Regions from separate parts of the Homo sapiens genome. Here all the other regions are linked to region 1. Evidence: promoter capture Hi-C in 16 types of primary human blood cells and fetal thymus (Javierre and others, 2016). All regions are on one chromosome and are shown on one strand. The core of a region is centred on a gene start or on the middle of the fragment in contact, and the rest is flanking DNA. Distances in the headings are between cores, read along the strand shown.

What was found. Contacts are between HindIII fragments. The CHiCAGO score rates a contact against its expected background, and 5 or more counts as called.
Region 2: a fragment that was not itself captured here is called in contact with the fragment with the promoter of RNF138 in region 1 in 1 of 17 cell types (total B cells); the score reaches 8.1 in total B cells.
Region 3: a contact is called between a fragment that was not itself captured here and the fragment with the promoter of RNF138 in region 1, in 2 of 17 cell types (total B cells and naive B cells). The highest score is 6.8, in total B cells.
Region 4: a contact is called between a fragment that was not itself captured here and the fragment with the promoter of RNF138 in region 1, in 1 of 17 cell types (naive B cells). The highest score is 5.1, in naive B cells.
Region 5: a contact is called between a fragment that was not itself captured here and the fragment with the promoter of RNF138 in region 1, in 1 of 17 cell types (fetal thymus). The highest score is 5.3, in fetal thymus.
Region 6: a fragment that was not itself captured here is called in contact with the fragment with the promoter of RNF138 in region 1 in 1 of 17 cell types (fetal thymus); the score reaches 6.8 in fetal thymus.

What each region holds. Positions count from the first base shown.
Region 1 is chr18:32,090,034-32,093,397 of GRCh38, forward strand. It overlaps RNF138 (ring finger protein 138), which reads left to right and starts at 1,841. Exons shown (of 8, transcript NM_016271.5): 1 at 1,841-2,202; 2 at 2,667-2,853. The coding sequence starts at 2,744. LOC124904278 (a long non-coding RNA gene) reads right to left here and starts at 1,912. Exons shown (of 2, transcript XR_007066327.1): 1 at 1,822-1,912; 2 at 1,242-1,469. It also overlaps a transcript of RNF125 not described here. RefSeq lists an enhancer at 1,540-1,589 and a silencer at 2,260-2,679. The HindIII fragment of the contact is 10,157 bases long and covers 1-3,364 here.
Region 2 is chr18:32,801,363-32,804,726 of GRCh38, forward strand. No RefSeq gene overlaps it. Among named protein-coding and RNA genes, the nearest start is that of KLHL14, 30 kb to the left of the region's middle. The HindIII fragment of the contact is 876 bases long and covers 1,133-2,008 here.
Region 3 is chr18:32,760,033-32,763,396 of GRCh38, forward strand. All of the region lies in intron 2 of KLHL14 (kelch like family member 14), which reads right to left. Among named protein-coding and RNA genes, the nearest start is that of KLHL14, 11 kb to the right of the region's middle. The HindIII fragment of the contact is 2,364 bases long and covers 703-3,066 here.
Region 4 is chr18:32,735,622-32,738,985 of GRCh38, forward strand. The region is part of intron 3 of KLHL14 (kelch like family member 14); the gene reads right to left. LOC112268208 (a long non-coding RNA gene) reads left to right here. Exons shown (of 3, transcript XR_002958196.2): 3 at 1,730-2,830. Among named protein-coding and RNA genes, the nearest start is that of KLHL14, 36 kb to the right of the region's middle. The HindIII fragment of the contact is 698 bases long and covers 1,220-1,917 here.
Region 5 is chr18:31,490,247-31,493,610 of GRCh38, forward strand. No RefSeq gene overlaps it. Among named protein-coding and RNA genes, the nearest start is that of DSG2, 6.2 kb to the right of the region's middle. RefSeq lists an enhancer at 1-97. The HindIII fragment of the contact is 2,426 bases long and covers 281-2,706 here.
Region 6 is chr18:31,507,632-31,510,995 of GRCh38, forward strand. All of the region lies in intron 1 of DSG2 (desmoglein 2), which reads left to right. Among named protein-coding and RNA genes, the nearest start is that of DSG2, 11 kb to the left of the region's middle. The HindIII fragment of the contact is 220 bases long and covers 1,370-1,589 here.

The DNA of each region.
Region 1 (3,364 bases), core at 591-3,090:
CCAGGAGTTCGAGACTAGCCTGGCCAACATGGCAAAACCCTGTCTCTACTAAAAATGCAAAAATTAGTTTGGCATGGTGGTGCATGCCTGTAATCTCAGCTACTTGGGAGGCTGAGGCAGGAGAGTTGCTTCAACCTGGAAGGCGCAGGTTGAAGTGAGCTGAGATCATTCCACTGCACCCCAGCCTGGGTGACAGAGTGAGATTCTGTCTCAAAAGAAAAAAGAAAAAAAGTGAGTTTTCTTCTCTGGGCTGTTAAAAATTTGAACTCAAAGAACCATTTTATAAGTGAATGTGAAAAGCACCTGAACTACTGCTATTAGCTGCCCCTCTCGTCACGTGCTCTTCCTCCTTCCAGGAAATCTGAAGCTAGTATTAGCTTTCTTGTCTTGCTTCCACTGCGCTTGCTGCTAAGGAGGAAAAGCAACAAAAATACAAAATATAGTTTGGTAGAGGGAATTAGCTATTCATTGGACAAATTATTATTATTCTAGGAATCAATGCTTTTGAGATGTACATTAAAACCCATTTCCTCCATAAAGTTTTCTGTTAACTCTATATATTTCTAATCATTCCATTTCCTATCCTCATTATAGCCATCGTTTAATGCAAAATTTAATACTTTGGCAAATACCATTTTTTCTCTCTCATTCTGATAGATATGTAATAATGTAAACAGGTTGAGAGCAAAGTTCATGACATCTGCATAACACCTAACAATGCCAATGTCAACATAGACAATAAATGGCAGAATTGATTTAAATAGTCCCTTAAATGGCTTCTGTTTATTCATTTAGACCATGGGGGAGGGTTTTAACAAAGGATGGTAATAAAACCTTTCTTTTCTCTGAAGCTAATTGTAGATGCTGTATAATGTTCCAGATTTTCCTTAGCTTCTTTCACGTCATTGTGGATCCCATCTTATCGATTTATCCTTTTTTTGTTCTTCTTTTTTTTTGAGAGTCTCACTCTGTCGCCAGGGCTGGAGTGCAGCGGCGCGATCGCGGCTCACTGCAACCTCTGCCTCCCGGGTACAAGCGATTCTCGTGCCTCAGCCTCCCGAGTACCTGGGATTACAGGCTCCCACCACCATGTCCGGTTAATTTTTGTATTTTTAGTAGAGATGGGATTTCATCACGTTGGCCAGGCTGGTCTTGAACTCCTGACCTCAAGTGATCCAACCGCCTTCGCTTACCAAAGGGCTGGGATTACAGGTGTGAGCCACCGCGCCCGGCCTTTTTTCTTTCTTTTTTTTTTTTTTTTTTGAGACGGAATCTCACTCTGTTACGCAGGTTGGACCATCTTATAGATTATCAATTGTACAGATAATTGCACTCCGGCCTGGGAGACAGAGTGAGTACCTGTCTCAAAAAATAAAATAAAATAAAATAAAATTAAAAAAAACACTTAAATTAGTGAATAACCTTGGTGAAAAGCCACGTCCATGCTTCTACGGCATTTCTCTTCAAAGCTAAAAAAAAAAAGAAAAAATCAAAAATCAACCCAAAGGTGTAGTAGAAGACTGCATCTGCGACCGTATTTAAGCATCGGTCATGCTGTTAAAGGAGAAAGTGGACATCCTCTCAAGGAAACTTTAATCCTGCCCCCAAAGGATTAAAATCCCGTAACAAATATTTGTTTATAACACATCTTGACAAGATCAAAACATTCTGGTAGGGCAAATAGTAAAGACTAAATCTTGAACATTGACGAAAACTTCCTGAAAGGCCCAATGTATTTGACAGGAGAGGTAACTGGGGTCCCGGGCCTAGCGAGGCGGGGCGGGGAGGCGCAGGTGTCACCGCGGGCGCCCAGCTGCTTACGTCACAACCCGCGGAAGGCGCCGTGCGCCGGTTGCTATACAGGCCGCACTTCACACCCCGTGCCTCCCCGCCTCTCCTGGCTCCTCCGCCCAGATCCCCGGCGCTCCCGCGTTCGGTGACGGCCGGGTAGGCTGTAGGCAGCGCAATGCCAAGACAGAGCTGCTGGCGGCGGCGGGCGAATCTCCCTGCACCATGAGCCTCGGCTCCGGCCCCGTTAGGGGCCGATAAGCACAGCGCACGCCGCCCTCCATTTGCCCCGGGGCCTCGGCTGCGAAGATAGCGGCGGCCGGACAGGAAGCTCGAGGAAAGCGCTGGGCCGGGTCTCTACGAACACGTGAAGGAAAAGCAGCTCCGTCCACAACGCCGCTTCGGGGCTCCTAGGTGAGAGTCTCCCCGGCGGAAGCGTGGAGGGGCCGGGGTGCCGGGAAGCGGGGCGGGGAGGAAGCCGCGGACACGGGCTGGGCACTCGGGGCTCGGGGTCGGGGTGAGTAGAGGCGGAAAAGCAGTGAAAAGGGAGGCCTTGGGCGAAGACGGGGGCTGAGGGCGGGGCGCGAGCCCGCGCCTGGAGCCCGGTGAGGGCGTGGCCTAGAGCGTGAGGCCGCGTCCTGGGGCGGGGTGAGGGGCGAGCGGGGCGGGCCCACGGCATGCTGCGAGCCCAGCCTCCCGCCAAGCACCGTCCCCCATCCAGCCCCCTGTGGGAGGAGCCGTGGGAGGGGTCGCCTCTTGCCCGGCGCGTGCGGCAGTAGCGTCTCTGCGTTCGGCCCCGCCCTACCCAGGGCCCCGCCCCCTTCCTGGCGCGCGCTGTATCCTGATGCGATCCCCCTCCCCCCTCCGGGTTCATGTAGGGAGTCGGGCCCCGGGCCGCCACCGTCACCTCGGCCGCTGCCGCTGTCGCCATCGCCTTGTTTCCCCATCCCCCGCCATGGCCGAGGACCTCTCTGCGGCCACGTCCTACACCGAAGATGATTTCTACTGCCCCGTCTGTCAGGAGGTGCTCAAAACGCCCGTGCGGACCACGGCCTGTCAGCACGTGTGAGTAGACGCCCCCTCCCCCTCGCGGAGCCGGGTTGTCGCTTAGGCCCGGCCTCCGGCCCGGGACCCCGGGCTGCCGCCTGGCGGGAACCGAGCCCGCCGCGGCCTGCCCGAGCGTCGCTGCCCCGCGAGGTCCCGTTCCCCGCCCCTCAGAGTCCCGGGGCGGCCTTTTCCTCAGCCTCGGGGCCCGCTCCCCGCGTCCAGCCCCCTCAGCCCAAGCTCCCGCTCTCCCGCTCTCCCGCTCTCCCGCTCTCCCGCTCTCCCTGGCTTTCGCGCCCCCGGGGCAGTGGCCAGGCCGTTCCCTGCGGCGTCTTCAGGCCCCGGAGGCCCCTGTCGTCTCCGCCAGGCCCGGGAGGAATTGCAGGGATCTTGGAGCCTTTTTGTTTCTTAGCAACCCGGGTGAAGGCTGGGGTGTCGAGTGTCAAAAGCGGCCGGCGGTGCTCGCGCGGGCCCGCTCGCCCCGCGACCTGCCCTGCTTTCAAGTTTCCTCTTTCAGAACCTTGGTCCGTCC
Region 2 (3,364 bases), core at 321-2,820, 710 kb after region 1:
TTCTATTCTTCTGGTCTCCACGGTCAGTTGTGTCTTCTAGAAATTCCAAGAAGTTAGTGAGGCTTGACCTTCCTCTTTTTTTTTTTCTTCTCTTTTTGTAAAGCATGCCAGCAATCTTTAATCATGCTGTGATTTTCTACATGCCACCCAGGTTAGCTTCTGAAATAGTCAAACAAAGATTTAACCCACAGACACATAAATATCTAATCTACACTTTCCAGAGAGTCCTCAGAAGCATGTAACTATTATTATTCTTAGTATATAGGTTGTTTTTATTTTTTTATTTTTATATTCATTACTGGAAAGAAACATTTCCTCCTATTATAGATTTTAATAAAAATTCAGGTGTTATTACAGTATTTTTTTCTGGTGCTTACTCTTTCTTGGTGTAATTCACATGCAAAGCATTTCATAACTTTTTTTTCTTTTAAAAGAAGAAAAGTAAAAAGGATAGAGTTAATCTACTAGTTGCTTCACAGGTCACCTAGTTTTCAGCTGATAAGAACTAATTTGATCAATAGAGTTTACCTCTTGAAAATGAGAAGCTTTAGAAAGAAAGATTAGTAAAGGAGAAAATATGCTAAAAGGGATTAAGACCAAGACTATCAAATGCTCTCAATATTAATAGTGATGACACTGTTCACCTATCTTACTAAATGTTGAAGATGAGCTATGCAGTCACTGTGATGGAAGATGAGGATAGTTAAGAGAGTTAGAGTCTGAGACAAATGCAAATGGACACAGCCAGGACGAAAACATTCGACAAGCAACAGCCAAAAAATCCAGAGGAAGGAATTTCACCTGCAATACAAGTAGAACTTAGAAAAGTAAAGCACACATCAGATTTTTTTTTTAATTCAGTGAACATTTGTTACCCTACCTGCTTTGATGTGGCCGTGATGATACGATACCTGGAGGGATGTTGAAGAAAGGCAAGGACACAGTTCAAAGGAACGGTCTCAGGATGATAGTATGGTAAATTGAGCTGATGAATAAATATCATAATTCCAGAGATGTACAGGAAGTAAGCAGTGGCAAAAGTATCACTTAAATAATTTTGAATTGTTTTCTATCCTTCATTGGCAAATAAATCAAGATCCTTTTACCTAACCCAATGAGATTTCCAACAGGAAGCTTCTTACTGTTAAGACCCAGAGATTGTCCGTGCGTTTGCATTACATACTCCTTCATTACTGAGCAATGGTCAGAGGAAAATGCTGGAGCTACTTTTTGGAGTGAATTGAAGCACATGATACGAGATGAGACAAAAATACCATGGTATCAATGATTATGGCATAACCAACTGGACTAGGTGCCTGATGTGGTCGGCCTTTCTGCATTTCCTTCTTCCTTAGATTTCTGCTTTACAGATTTACTTTCATTCTTTTCAGATCTCCAGTGCATGCAGTGGAAAACCTTCTTAAGCATTCCTCTCTCTGTTTTTTTTTTTTCTCTGAATAGGTTGCACGCTTCCTTCACCCTGTGAGAAATAGATCTGGCACCTTTGAGGCAGGTTACTCAAAGTATAGTGGGAATGTCTTTTGTTATTTGTTGAACTTCATACAAAGGTCCTCCTTCATCATACCCAATGTGCTGTTTGCAAAATGCACTGCAAATAACCATCCATCACTTTACATCATTGTCACATTTTACCACTTTGTTTCTTCTCCTCCAGGTAAGTGAAAATGATTATCTGGCTGAGATCATAATCATTGCTGATCGGTACTTGGCCTCCTGCAAAGTTCCGTGCAAGCACAGAGACTTTTTGTAAGATGCCACTGGGCAGATGTCAAATGGAGTGCCCTCCCCCATCACCATCTTGGTCCTGAAAAACTTAATAACTTGGTATTGTTCAGTGAGTCATTCAAGCGAGTAGTGTGGAATTCTACCTGTTCCTCAAGGCAGAGTATCTGCTAAGCTGCTGCAAAGAGTGTTAGCCATTCATGGCTCTTTCTGTGCATAAAGAGCTCATGGTTGGGAGACAAGGTGAATGCAAACCCGGAGTGAAAGCTTTGTAACTTCTGTGTTTGTCTGAAATCGTGCACAAATTAAGCCAGTATGCAAAACAGAGCTCAACAAATATATTCCTCTTTTTAGTGGTATTTTCAGTGCTAGTTTTTCACTTTTTTTTTTTTTAAAGACCAGGAAAGAGGTATCCTGGAAACAGATCAAAAACACAAGGAGATGAAAACTTTAAAGTGATCAAGCCACACAGTTTCACAAATGATAACATAAAGGTTTTTAAAAACATTGGTTGTAATTTCTACTAGGTGTCACAACTCAGTGAACCATTACGAGTGAACCAGCTCAGTGAACCAAACTGAACTGAACAGATGGAATTCCACCCTTACTACGCTTGAAAGGCTCCATGAACAATACAAGTCTTCTTTTAAGTTCCCCTTTGAGCTGCTTACCTCACTAATGCAAACATGTGGGGGCTGCAGGATAGAACATGGCCCCTTGGCTGTTTGTTCAGTTGTGTGGTGCCGTTGTTCCAGCAGAAGGAAGGCAGTCCATTTTGAAATCCTCAGGGCCATGCTCCTCATTTTCAAAGTCCCAGTGTTATTTTCCATTTGTTCTCAAATATATGTTAGAGAGTGGAGTGTTTTGTTTTCTTTTACTTTTCCCTTGAGTTGTAATTCACTTTAATCTGTCCAGAAAAACCTTGAAAGATTTTTTTTTGTAAATATGCCTGAACAACAATTGGCTGTAGCCAATTCATTAAACACTAATCAATTGCTATATTCATTAATTCAATAATATGGTGCCTAGCTAGTACCAGGCACCATACGGACATTGCGTGGAATCTAAAATGGAAAAAATTCAAGTCTTTGCTTTTAAGGAATTATAATTTAGTAGAATAGATAAGCCAGACATAGATAATTGTGTTTTTGAAAATACTTTATCATTCAAGTGGCTCCTTGATATCTGTCCCCCTTCCTGCTCACCTTCCTCTTTTGACTCATGACTGATGTTATGGTCTGTTGACAAGTAGTCAGCATACTAAATGTCTTCAGTTTGGGAGTTTGTATCTAGGCTTATTTTCGAGGGTCATGTATTACAAAGTTTCAAACTGATTTTGTATCTTTGAAAATCAGACCATTTCTTCAAAGCATATTCTAACAGGGTTTGGGAGACAATGGACCAGAGATAAAGCCAAAGAGGCCAGGACTGGGGGTTTGTTGGTTAGGCATAAAAGGTACTGGCAGGTGGATCACTGATTAATTCCAGAGAGGTCAGCTGAGGGAGAGATTAGCAAGTAAGAGGTCCAGAATCCAGGGAGACAGGCATCAGGGATCAGATACTGAGGTTAGGATTGCGGAAACTACAAGGTCAGGAGGCGAAAAAAAGTTTTTTTGAAACA
Region 3 (3,364 bases), core at 635-3,134, 670 kb after region 1:
TTTGCACAGGATGCTCTGATGTGGTTGGTTTTGAGGGGTGCTCAAAATCAGAGCCAAACAGCCCTCTGTTGTTTTTGTTCTAAGAAGTATTTACAAATATGACTATTTTCTTTCTGGTGACAAATTGACCCTCCAGCCTAATAATTCCTCACTCAGCACCAGATTGTGAATTGTGGACCATCCCACCCTGACCCTGACATTCAAAATAGACTTTATCTGATAAAAAAACACATCTCAGAAATCACTCTATAGAAAATTTGAAGGTAGCACCCAACAATATGTGATTGGACTGTGTACACACAGACATACACACACACACACACACACACATATACACACACACACAAACATGCACATCCATCTTTCCATATTTTTCAACAATGCCTCTACATTTTCAAGGACTTTTCTCAGATATTGCTGCTTTCTCTCTTCTTCCTCCTCTCCATTTCACTGGCCTCGCCTGTCTTCAGAGGCACCTGAAGGCACATAAGGCAGGGAAGTGAAACCGACTGTAATTCTTCAGTTCACTTCTCTGCAGCCTCCAGTGAGCCAGTCTCCATACGGTGGCCCAGCTGAGCTCTGAGGAAGTTCAGAGTCCCCGCGCAGGTGCAATTTACCAACCCCTCACAGGCGCTCTGGGAGCAAAGAAGCCAGACATATGCATGTGAAAGGCTTTGGGAGCAGCAGAAAAGAAAGCCTCTAAGCTTAAGTTTATGAGATTAAAAAGAAGAGGAACTCTCTTCTATGAAAGGAAAAAATGAAAGACATTTATAACTCAACCGGCCATCATTTTCCTTTTGAAGAATGAAATATAAATTGCTGAGAGCTGTCGAAAATTCTAATGTTCCCACTTCCTTCTGATGCCCTTGGTTTCACCTTTGGTTCCCTCCAACTTCATTCCTCTGGTGTTAACAGTCTCTGACTATTTCTGTGCTATCAGTGATATCATGAATATGTCCTAGTGATTTTTTGATAGGCAAAAGTGCATTCAGGTAAATTTTGCTAAATATGTCTTTTAAAATTAATAATATACAAACTTAAAACAGCATTTTATGTTTAGTTTTTCTACAATCTCAGCTGATCTTTCTACAAATGCTGCTAAGTATTTAGAACTATAATTATTAACCCATTTTACTGCTGCAGGACTCGGCTAACGTGGAGCCAGGCCACTCATTTAGGTTTATGATTTCAAAGGCAGCAGTGTTTCCACAATAGTATTACTTCTTTTTTCAGTTCAACTGAAAAACATGCTGATTTTTCCATTTTAAAATGTATCTATGCAGTAAATAATCCTTAGCAGGGCCTACAACTTCCTGTATGATTTGGACAACCCCTCTTGCCACAAATGTAGCCACACATCCTTTTTTTTTTTTTTTTTTTAAGTTCCTGGAAGGTGCCAAGCTCTTTTCTGCCCAGGAGTTTTGCAGGTGGTCTTCTCTCAGCTTTGCCTCTCCAATTGCATATTTTGCCTTCTCCCCAGGCCTATTACTTAGAATGGCTCATCTTTCAAGGCTCATCTTATACCTTTGTTGCAGAGAAAGTCTTCTCCAGTCACTCGGATAAGGTTACAGCTGTCTGTTATAGGGTGTCCCAGCCCATGCCACTTTTCTCTTGTAGGTTATGTATTGCCAGTGTGATTATTTTGTGTTACTATTTACTCTTTCTCTTTTTACTGTAAATTGCATGCAGTCAGAAATGTGGCTGTCTTGTTCAACTCTGTATCTCAGAACTTAGCTCAGAGCTTGATGTACCATATACGTTCAATACAAATGTGGGGGTTATTCCATAGCACAACTTCTGATTAGTAGTAAATTGCAATGCATCACTCCAAGTTTCCACTATCAGTGTGACACAGTCATGGGCCTGCATTTAGAAAGCTGTCAGAGGTCCTGAAGTTCTCCTTGCTTCTCAGGTCTTTTGCCAGGTCAAATTACATGGGAATTAAGATGATTTTGCAATGAATGCAGTTATATGTTTATCTCCTTATATTCACAGAATGGGTTGTCCCCTTTGAACTCCGAGACTTCTGAAACTACTGCATTACCTAGCACAACAATGGATTTAAAAAAAAAACAACAAAAAATCTTATTAACTCAGATTACATATACATAGTTATTGAACCGAATGGTATTATAGGCGGTAAGGTACCATGATTGACATTTTTTTCTTGTGAAAATATTTTCTTTCTTTTGAGGACTGACTTTTTTTTTCTTTTTAATGAAATTCTGTCTATAACTCTAAATTATATAAGGTTGGGTATGCCATGATTTAAGTGTTTCTTGATTTGTTCTTATCTTGATTTGTAAATGTTGAACACCTAATTTCCAGTCTTTAGAAATTTCTTGCCCATCTTCTTTTTCTTCCTTTTTCAGATAGTTCACATTCTTAATAACTTGTTTGATACCCCTTATTTCCTTGCATTTTTCTTACTTCTTGTTTTTTCTTCTTTTTCTCATTACCCTATAATTTATTTTCTCTTTTTACGGTAGGCATTCCATAATACCTTTCTGCTTTACTTCTAGTGTTGCAAATAGTTCTAATCCTATTTGCATTAATATTATTTGTGAAGAGATAAACCTCTCTGCTATTTACAGTAAAATGAACACACTCATTGTATCATCTGTACTACAACAGATAGCCTTTCTCTGGTTAAGTGATCCTCCTACCCATATCAAAATAGTGTTTTTTTGTTTTAATTTAAAGAAATCATCATTAGTAATGCCTGTATTGTGAATTATCTTGGAAATCAATGGAAAGGACATGGAAAATGAACATGTTTTCTGAATTCTAAGTGAATGAGAGAAGACAAACATTTATGATCTAACAATTGTTAAATTGATTTTCTTGAAACAAAATATAAACAGAATAAATTTTCAGTTAGAGAGGTCTTATTTTGTTATTAAAATATACAGGTATTTTTATAATTCCAACTTCTACCTGGTTATTTAATCACCTGAAAGTATCCCCAACATGAATAGTGTTTTACTGTCACAAAAACAAATCTGACACCCCTTTAGTACTTCAGTGCACAGAAATCCAGGGAAACCAACTTTTGGTTCAAATTCAAGCTTCAAGGTTTTTTTTTTTTTTTCATAGTTAAACAGAAATTTCTTATTTTTCTTTCTTTTCTTTATTTAAAGTGCATTGGCTCATTCTATTTTTAGTAAGTCAATATTATAGTGCCAAATCTCAGCAACTTATTATTTAGCCCCTTAATTCAGAACTAATAATTAAGTGCTGTAGACCAGAAGGATAGAATTCTGGCTTTCTAATGTCTTCCCCTCGTTCTTCATTGGTTGAGTGGCCTGAAGAAGAGTTAGATGGCAGGAACTTTTAATGACTTTTGTGGTGTGATAAAACAGAA
Region 4 (3,364 bases), core at 319-2,818, 650 kb after region 1:
TAGTAATATTCCCCATGACTCCTTGATTAGATCAGGACTCTCCACTGCCAGATCTTATATATTTTATACCCTTCTCTCAGAGCACTATCACATTTTCTTATTATATATTGCTACCTGGGATTATTTATTAATGCTGGTTTCCCTCTCTAAACTATTAACATGGTGATATTTGTTTTGGCTCAGCGTGGTATCCTCTGTGCTTAGCACAATCTCTGTTACATAGAAGATACCAATTATATTTGTTAAATGAATGAAATGAGTGTGTAAAATGAGAGGGTTGGGCATTGAGATCATTTATTCTTTCAGTACTTACATTCAATGATTTGCCAGACTTAGTCTGTAATTTGCCCAGGAATGACACACAGCAAATTTAAACAGCCCGCATGACTCATACCTCCTTCATTTCAGATTCAGTAGCACATACCACAGCTTATGTCTAAAGAAGGTATCAGAATTATTTGTACACATGCTGTTCTCTGGAGAAAAAACAATTGCTATATTCAAGAGAGGTATAAGCCAGAAATAAATGAGAGATGGCCAAAGAAGGTCAACCAGTTTTTCTAGGTACCCAGCTTCCTTGAAATACAGTATTTGGAGTGACCACCACACATATTTTCTTAAAAATCTATGAAAAATCCACTAATGCACTGGTGCATGAATACACAGTAGCAAATAATTCAAGATATATAGCAATGTGCAGCCATGTATCTCAAATTAGAATTGAGCTCATTGAAGGTAAAATTAGATGCTAACATATTTAAAAAGTCCAAACACAATTGTCTCTCCTTCTTTGTCCAAAGCCATGGAAACGATTGCTCCATGCTCTGAAACAAAAAATTCCAAGCTAAGAGAGATCAACTGCTATGATATTGTATATAATATTTAGATCCCTGTTTTTTTCAGTAACCCTGAAAACAAAAAATAGAGGGGTATCCCTACTTGCAATTCTTAATTCTTGAACCTGTCTTGATAATTCCTTGAAATAGTCTCCATGTGATATGGTTCTTGGTTAATTCTGCAGCCCCATTGCTTACTAGTCCAACTTCAGATTTTCCTATAGATACACAAATTTATTTCAGTTGCCAAAAGACACTATACTCCCTCTTGTCTTTTGGCATTCTCAATACTGGGTGGTCTTACTAAAATACTTTTCCATCTACCTTTTGCCTAGGTAATTCCTACCCATTTTTTCAGAGTTACAGATGGTCACTTCTAGGAAAGCTTTCCTAACCTCTCATGTTAACTTTAGGGGCTCATTTTTGTGTTCCCATAGCACCCTAGAATTTCTGTATGTATCTCTTAGCACCCTGTATTATAATTACTTCCTTAGGTTATTGAGAGGAGAGATTATCTTATGCATGTTCTATCCTACCATCCAACACAGAGTGGGTATTCAATAATTGCTTATTACATAAAGGAATGAGGTCTATAAATAAGTCTAAATTCTTCCTAGGCATTTTCAGAGTCGTTCAAAAGTACCTCATTGTTTTCTGAAGTTCTCCTGCAATGAGAAACACACTATCTATGAACCCTACCTACCTGTCTAGAAATAACATTAAATTAAATGGTTTGTGGGTTTTAGTTCTTGGTAATAAAGGTAATATGAATAAAGGAAACCCACAGGTACAAAGCCCTTAATTTAACTTACATTTTATTTTCTTCAAAACAAATAATGATAAATGATTATTAGGTTTTGACTAATTTTACTTTCCTCCCTTTATATCCTTAGGGAACAGAAATGAACTGAAATCAAGAAACAGAAGGGCCAAGGAAAGAAGTCCATTTGAATGTATCAACATGCAGGTTTATTAATTATTCCCTGAATAATCAACAACTAAACCATTCTGCATTGCTTGGCTATTGAATATGATCAAACCTATATTTATCATTTGGAACTGAAGTTCAATGTCTTATACAAGCTTTGTTTGCTCATGACTATTCCGTCACCATTTATAGAAAGTATAGTTTTTCAAAAGTGTGAAGAATCCACCAGCTTTCTGATCTTTGTGACTCCTCTTAAAGAAATAAATAACAACCAGACACAGGACCCCTCCTATCTGGATGGGATCAAGTTAAATGTCATCCGTGGGTCAGAGGAGACAACCTAGGAAACCACCACCCAACAGTTTCCTTTATTTTCCATGACTGAACACTAGAAAATTCCCAAATCCTTCCACTACAAAGAGAAAAGAGTTGTAAATCAACAGAACGGAAGAGAAACAAAAAGGCATTTCCTCTATCTTTAACAAAGGGAACTTAGAGTTATCAAGAGAAGGAACACGACTTTCTACTTAGCTCCATAATTTTCATTCTAATGTTATTAAAAAGAAGTCATCATTGGTACATGGAAGGATAAATCTATATTTTAAAGTCCCTCTTTTCTGTTGTTGGTCACAAAAGGCAACAAAGAAGCATCTAATAAATAGAATCTCTTATTTGAAACATTGGAAAAAGGATGCCAGCTCCTGGAAAATACCTTGCCCATCAGTAAAGAAATCGGTCCACAGGGAATAAAAATGGAATGGAGAGCTCTCCAATGCTGCCCTATGGGGAGAAATAAAAGGGGTCTCCACATGTGGACTTCATAAAAACTTTGATATAAAAGAAATCTATTATCAAAAGTACACGGTAACCCCAGCAAGTGTTCTGTTTAATCTTTGCACAGAGGATTTAGGGCCTGCAAAGTGCAAGAGGCATGATGCATTGGCCATTTTAGTATTCATGTCTCCTGTACTGCTTTCTAATAAGTTAAGATGAAACGGGAGACTGCGTGCAGGAGTGAGAGATGCAAGAAAAGCAGTACTGAGAAATAAAGATGAACAAAAGTGCATCTTGACTTCCCTTTTATTATTAACAGGCGAGAGAACAACAATGCCAAACTTATAATGTTATTACTTAACACTTCACATTTACAAAAAGACGTTGCAGTCATTTTTACATGTTATTTCTCAATATTTTTCTGATAGAGGCTTTTCTTATAATCAGTTTTTATGATGATATATGAAATGATTTTTCCAAAAAGGAAGATAAACATGCAGTCTGTGCCAGCATGTTACCAAAACAATCTTTTTGGTGAGAATAATTGTTTCCTTTACTGTTTGGGTAGGACAAACAACTGGTTGGCCGACTATTTGAATGTTGTTTTCTTCGTGTTATATAGACCCACTTTTTCACTCCTACTCCCCTCCACTCCATTCAACTCACTATTACTTAAGTGTACCCCTTACATCGTATTTCTGAAATATAAATAACATAATAGGATAAGATCTAAAGAAAACTAGCCTTCCTCTTAATTCTTCTGTGATATAAGGTGTGTAAATGGAGTGGCACCCATGAGTGAGTATCTGTGCACCTGCCTGTAGGC
Region 5 (3,364 bases), core at 244-2,743, 600 kb before region 1:
AAAAGAAGCAAAGTTTGGAACTCAGAAGACACACACATTTTACAAGTAGCAGAGGGCAAGAAAGGGATTGAGAAAGAACAGCCAGTGAGATGGGAACAAAATAAGGTGACTATTTCTGCTGCCCAAATCTATTTGCAATGCAGTTGTCCTTTCTCATTTCAAATGACTTGCTAGGCTTTTCTAATTGGATTTTGTTCTAATGTCTCAAATTCAACATGTTTTTACCAAAAGGAAAGTTTTTACTTCTGATTCCCTGTTTGTGTCAACATGATGAAAAGAAAGCTTTTTTCACAGCTAAAGCGAAAGCCCCTGACTCTTCATCAACAGTGTCTATGCTTTGAGTCACTCTGCCCTGGCAGGTTCAACACCTGGTTCACAATTACTCATCCTTTAAGAATCACTTCAGCAAACTTCCTCCAAGAAGCCTTTTCTAACCCCATAGTCCAAAGTGTGAGGTGGGAAACCTTCATTGTTCATATACTGCATGTGTAGTTCTACCACAGTGGTTATATTATTTTATTTTATAAGTAATTATAGTTATATTATTTTATAAGCACCTATTCTTGTTTCTTTCGATACAGGAAAACATTTAATTTTGCATTTCTAGTAAAATGAAAATTAAATGTTTGTTGAACAGGGACAAGGTAAATATTGAATAAACTAGTAGAACTAAACCAAAAAACAGATTCCTCCTCATATTTCCCTTCTCAGATTACCTGGGAGTATTTCACATTTTGTCCTGTGTCCATATGCCCTTTGCTAATCAACATTCTATGAGTAATCCTCCTGACCATGATAACCTTTTTTTATAACAGCTACACAACTCTATGATTTGTTTATAAAGCATTTTAAAAGGATAGCAACCAGATTTAGCTCTCACCTGTGAAACATTAATTCTAATACATATACTCATGAGATTTTCACTGGAATTAAGTGGTCAGCCACTTATCAGACCTTTAGCAAAGAACTGTCCATTTTTAAAATAATATTTAATGCTAGGATGTGTTGGCAGTAAGGAGCAGTGTTAGTAGAAAAGAGATATATTAATTTTCATTGATCTTTCTGAAACCCTTTAAAGTATTTTTGGTTTTAGATCATATTAAAGGGGTGATTTTAATGAGCTAATCACTTGAAGATTATTCTTATCTGTGTATGTGTGTGAAGCAAAGTATTCTGGAAAACATAAATTCAGGTAGATATTTTGAATATATCTAGATGTTAAAGGTAATTATTATCCACACAAAATATGTTTTGAACTAATCCATTCTAAATGTCTTAAGAAAAGTACATTTACCGTAATGTTCAACTAACTTGGGGGAGGAAAACATGAAAGTTAAAATTTTCACATCCTGTTAAGACTTCAATTTATTTTAAACAAATCCTTAGTCCTTTGTTGGTAATGGCTACATTTATTTTTGTGCACAGAGATGTATGAAACAGATTTACTCTAACCCCAGCATAAAGAAGTTAGGAGCCAGAGAGTTAGCTGTGAAACATCTGATTCTCAAGAAGTTCCTTCACCTCTCTGAGTCATAAGTTTTAGAATTTTTAAAGTAGAACTAATTCAGGAGTGACATGCTATGGCACTGGATGACATATTGGCACCTTCTCTCAAAGTCCTGGGGAAAATGTCTTATAGAAGGAATACTACCTTGAAACTAACTTTGATAGCCTTCAGGGGAGGTTGAATAATACAACAGAAATAAAGTTTGCATTGGCTATTTCTCATTCTGGAAGCTATGATTATCTTCATTGCTGAATAGAAACCAAAGACTTAATAATGAGGCATAAATACTTCTCTATAGGACTCAATTGCAAGGGCACAAATTTAAGGCAGGACTGACACATAGTTTCCTACAATGATTTCTGCAAGTGATTTGGTAAAGCCTCACTTCTTAAATCAGGAGTGCTCCCAGCATGATGGCAAACGAGAAGTATCCCCAAGGTGTGCTAATACCCACATCTAGCTCAAGAGAAAGGAGTGGAAATTAAGACATATTTCCTCCAGATTCAATGATGTAAAAAAGTTTACTGAGAGTATCCCATAGTACAGAGCACAGTTTGGGGCACTTCTGAGCACATTAATGAGCTAAGTCCTCAACTAATTCAGCCACCGTCACTTAAGTAACTGCATGAGAAAATCCACTCAGCAGCTAAGCCCCAAACATATGGAGAATGTGCTTCTCTCAGCTCAAATAGGCAGTGGTCCTTGGGGAACTGAGAAGAAAGAGTGTAATGAGGAGGTGGTGACTGTACTGGATCTTGAAGATTGGCACTTGGGAGAGAAGGGTGAGAGATGCTACCAGAGGGAGAGGGGGCATTTTGGACCACAGAAGGAACTCTACTATTTGAGCCAAATTTAATACCAAACCTCTCTTTCTAGTCTCCAAATAACCCTTTATGCTTATATAGGTGTGGAAAAAAAGTTAGATATTACATTTGAACTCAATTGAACATGGACACAAACAACGGTCACCAAGTCCCAGAACAGGTCATGTGAGCCCCTTGAGGAATTCATCCAGCACTGTTTCGAAGAAATCTCTATTTCAATCTACACCTATACGTTAGTTATTGAAAAACAACAGACAGTCGCAAAAACAAGTTGACCTTTTGTGTTATCTGAGCCCAGTCTCGAAGGGCCCTCGTGACTGGGCCTCATGCCGAACAACTGGTTACAAAAAGAGCTAGGGTCCCAGACTGCAACGAAGCTTCAAGAGACATCTTCTTGTCTGTGTACAGATGAGTGGCCGACTCTGGAGCCCAGGCTGTTGCTTCTCAGCCTGGTGATGAATCCTCCATAGTCTGAGGAGTGTGTATATGTGTGTGTGTGTGTGTGTGTGTGTGTGTGTGTGTATATATATATATATATACACACACATATACACACATATACATATATATCTTTTCCCTTCTCCCCTTCCCATTGCAATTTGCTTATTATATCAATTTTCTTATTATATCATTGACTTATTGTATCATTTGTTTATTATATCTGCATTGCCATTTACGTGGGATAAAGGTTGTTTACTCCTAAAAGTACTGTGCGTGGCTTCTCCCCTCACAGGTCTCCCACACAGAACATTTTTGGCGTCACGAACAGGATCTGAAAGCGAAAGCATGCCATTTTCCACCACAAGGACCGGGCTGGGAGGTCCCCATATTCCGGGATGGGAACTCCCCAACTTCTCCTCCTTGGCCATTGAGTGGTCCAATGGAACTGGCCTTTGTGAAAATTGGGAATCTAAATTAGTGCATTTTGAACCATTGGCTGTGCATGAGGTGCTGCAGGGAATCCCAGTTGGTAAAGTGGAAACTGAGGGAATTTACTGGCATGGATGGTGCTTGCTTACTGCTTATAAGTTAA
Region 6 (3,364 bases), core at 230-2,729, 580 kb before region 1:
AGATGGTATCTCATTGTGGTTTTGATTTGCATTCCCCTAATGACCAGTGATGATGAGCTTTTTTTCATGTTTGTTGGCTGCATAAATGTCTTCTTTTGAGAAGTGTCTGTTCATATCCTTCACCCACCTTTTGATAGGGCTGAGTGTTTTTTTCTTGTAAATTTGTTTAAGTTCCTTGTAGATTCTGGATATTAGCCCTTTGTCAGATGGATAGATTGCAAAAATTTTCTCCCATTCTGTAGGTTGCCTGTTCACTCTGATGATGGTTTCTTTTGCTGTGCAGAAGCTCTTTAGTTTAATTAGATCCCATTTGTCAATTTTGGCTTTTGTTGCCATTGCTTTAGGTGTTTTAGTCATGAAGTCTTTGCCAATGCCTATATCCTGAATGGTATTGCCTAGGTTTTCTTCTAGGATTTTTATGGTTTTAGGTCTTACATTTAAGTCTTTAATCCATCATGAGTTAATTTTTGTATAAAGTGTAAGGAAGGGGTCCAGTTTCAGTTTTCTGCATGTGGCTAGCCAGTTTTCCCAACACCATAAAATGGTATTTTTTGAGTGACAAATGCTTAGGACCAGTAAAAGTTAAACTAGAAGAAGAGGTATAAACCAGGGGAAAACACTACCTAAAGTGTTTTCCTACAGTTCAATTGTAGTTGATGAATACTTGTAAAATGAAAAATCTTTTTGTGATGGGGAGAATTCACAGTTACTGAACTGCCTGATTTATTTTATTTTATTTTATTTTATTTTATTTTATTTTATTTTATTTTATTTATTCTTGAGATAGAGTCTCATTCCGTCACCCAGGCTGGAGTGCAGTGGCGCCATCTCGGCTCACTGCAACCTCCGCCTCCTGGGTTCAAGTGATTCTTGTGCCTCAGCCTCCCTAGTAGCTGGGATTACAGGCATGCACCACCACACCTGGCTAATTTTTGTATTTTTAGTAGAGATGGAGTTTCACCATGTTGGCCAGGTTAGTCTTGAACTCCTGACCACAGGTGATCTGCCTACCTCTGCCTCCCAAAGTGCTGGGATTACAGGTGTGAGCTTACAGGCGTGAGCCACTGAGCCCGGCCTGAATTGCCTGATTTAGAACACATCTTTTCACACATCTGTCTGTAACTAGGGGCTCATTATCCAGTTTATGAATTATCCAGGCTCTCCTCTTCTTCCCTTTCCTATGCTACCATGTGATTTTACACAGTGGTTTCCAAAAGTGTGGTCCCACTTTTGGGGCCAAGCAGCATCAGCATCCCCAGGAAACTTGTTAGATACAAATTCTTGGACCCCATCCAGACCTACTGAGTCAGACACTCTAAGGCGGGACTCAGTAATCTGTGTTTTATCAAGGTGATTCTAATGCCACTCAAGCTTGAAAACCACTGTTAACATCCCAATTAGAAAATAAAAATAACTGGAGTAGAAAAGAAGATTAAATATTAAAAAGCCCTATGTCAAGGGAAAAAATAGGAACTGTCCATGAATATACAAAACTTTACTTGAAATAAGAATTCACAGCATGAATGAACAAGTCAAGTGTAGCAAAGCATTGCTAAATGCATATTTTAAAATTCTATGAGTTAATAAAAAGCTTTCAAAGAAACTGTCTTCCTCTTTGTAACTAACTTCAATATGACTCACCTAAAATCATATTTGTTACATTCAGATTAGCCCAAACATCCGAAGAACAGGTGAAAGATTTTGGTAAGTCATGTACTTTATTACTGTCAGACTTAAAATATTTATTATTATCTAAAGTTCAAATTCAGAGTTCAAAAATTAAAAGTTCAAAATATTGCTCTTTTTTTTTAAATTAGCAATTGTGAAAAATATAATTACATATTTAAATCAGCTGTTGAGTGAGACTGCTATAGGAGTATATAAATGTCTAGATCATCTGTAAGTTGGACTTTTAAGTTGGAATTTTCTAAATAAGTTATGCTGGTTAGCCGTAAAATAAATGTTATAAAAACTGTCTTTTCTTCCTCCTGTCCCCAAAATAAGATTAAGAAGAGAAAAGTGCAGTAGGTGAATTCCAACATAAATCTGACCCACGTCAGATTTATCAGAGCAGATCACCAAACTCACTGGTCCACCCTGACTGCACTGGGTCACTTGAACTCTTCTGAACATGTACATTTCTATGACTGTAGACTACAGAGCCTTCTTTGTGGCTATGGACGCTACTACAGACCAGACCACCAGCTCTGCCAATACAAATAGAAAAGTCAGGATGTGTGACCAGAGGAAATAAACAAGTGGCATCCACTCCCTTTATTTTATCTCATTTTATTTCTTTCAGATTATTTCAGCCAAAGTTGAAAGCTCTTTAAGAATGGATTGGGGATAAACCAGGGATCCTCTGGGCAGTTTTTGATTTGACCTTCTATACAATAAAAGGGAGAAACAAAAGAATTATAAAACATTCTGCTGGTTGGAAGGTTGAGTAACCAAGGAAAGAAAATAACACAGATGTTAGATGATGGGCCTGAGGTGGGCATGAATTTAAAGAACCACTGGCAAGTGCCACGTCCTCTGTGTTTGAGTTCTAAAGATAGTCCGTTGAGCACACTGCTTACCTTCTAGTAATTTCTCGCTGAATGGACATTAGAAGCCATTATAGTGACTGAAAGTTGAAATAATGTTTTAAACTAATTTGTATTTCTCTACATCCATTTTTAATAAGGTATCTCTTAGTCTGATCTATTAAAGTTTAAGGGATCACCTCACCATAAAACCACTGAACACTTCAAGATTCTCTACTTTAAAGGAAAGACTTCTGACAGAGAACCTGTCAGCCAGGAGGAGCTGTCATCCAGTGACTCATGAGTCCTTCTGGATTCTTGTTTAAACTCATCAAGGTGACTTCAGAACAGAAAGTCTTTTCTAAAAGTGCTGACCTTGAAAACAAAGAGTACATTGATTGATGGTGTTTGGTATTCCCTCATGCCTCTGCAGGAAAAAAAAAAAAATCTTTTGCCAGATACCAGGAAGTCCAGTTTTTATAAGATGTGCAGGATCCAATGGTAGAAAAATTTTTTACATGTTTTTCAAAGCAGCAAAACTAGTTAATAAAATACTTTTTTTAGAGTTTAGCAAATTAGAAAAGCTTTTGCAGAATTTTTTGGTTCATCTGAAAACACTGCTTTGGATACAGGAACTAGCAGCTTACTTTTCCTCGTCAGTCTTAAAGTCATGTTGCAGGTGACATTTTTCTGTCACCAAGTTCCTGGTGAGAAAAAAAGTCACAGATTTAGTGTTTGGAGGAAACCTTATTGGCCATTTTGTCCAGCCACCCCTCCCATGCTTGAAACCTCTTCACAGCATCCCCACAGGAGGTGACTCAAACTTACAGAGTGGACAG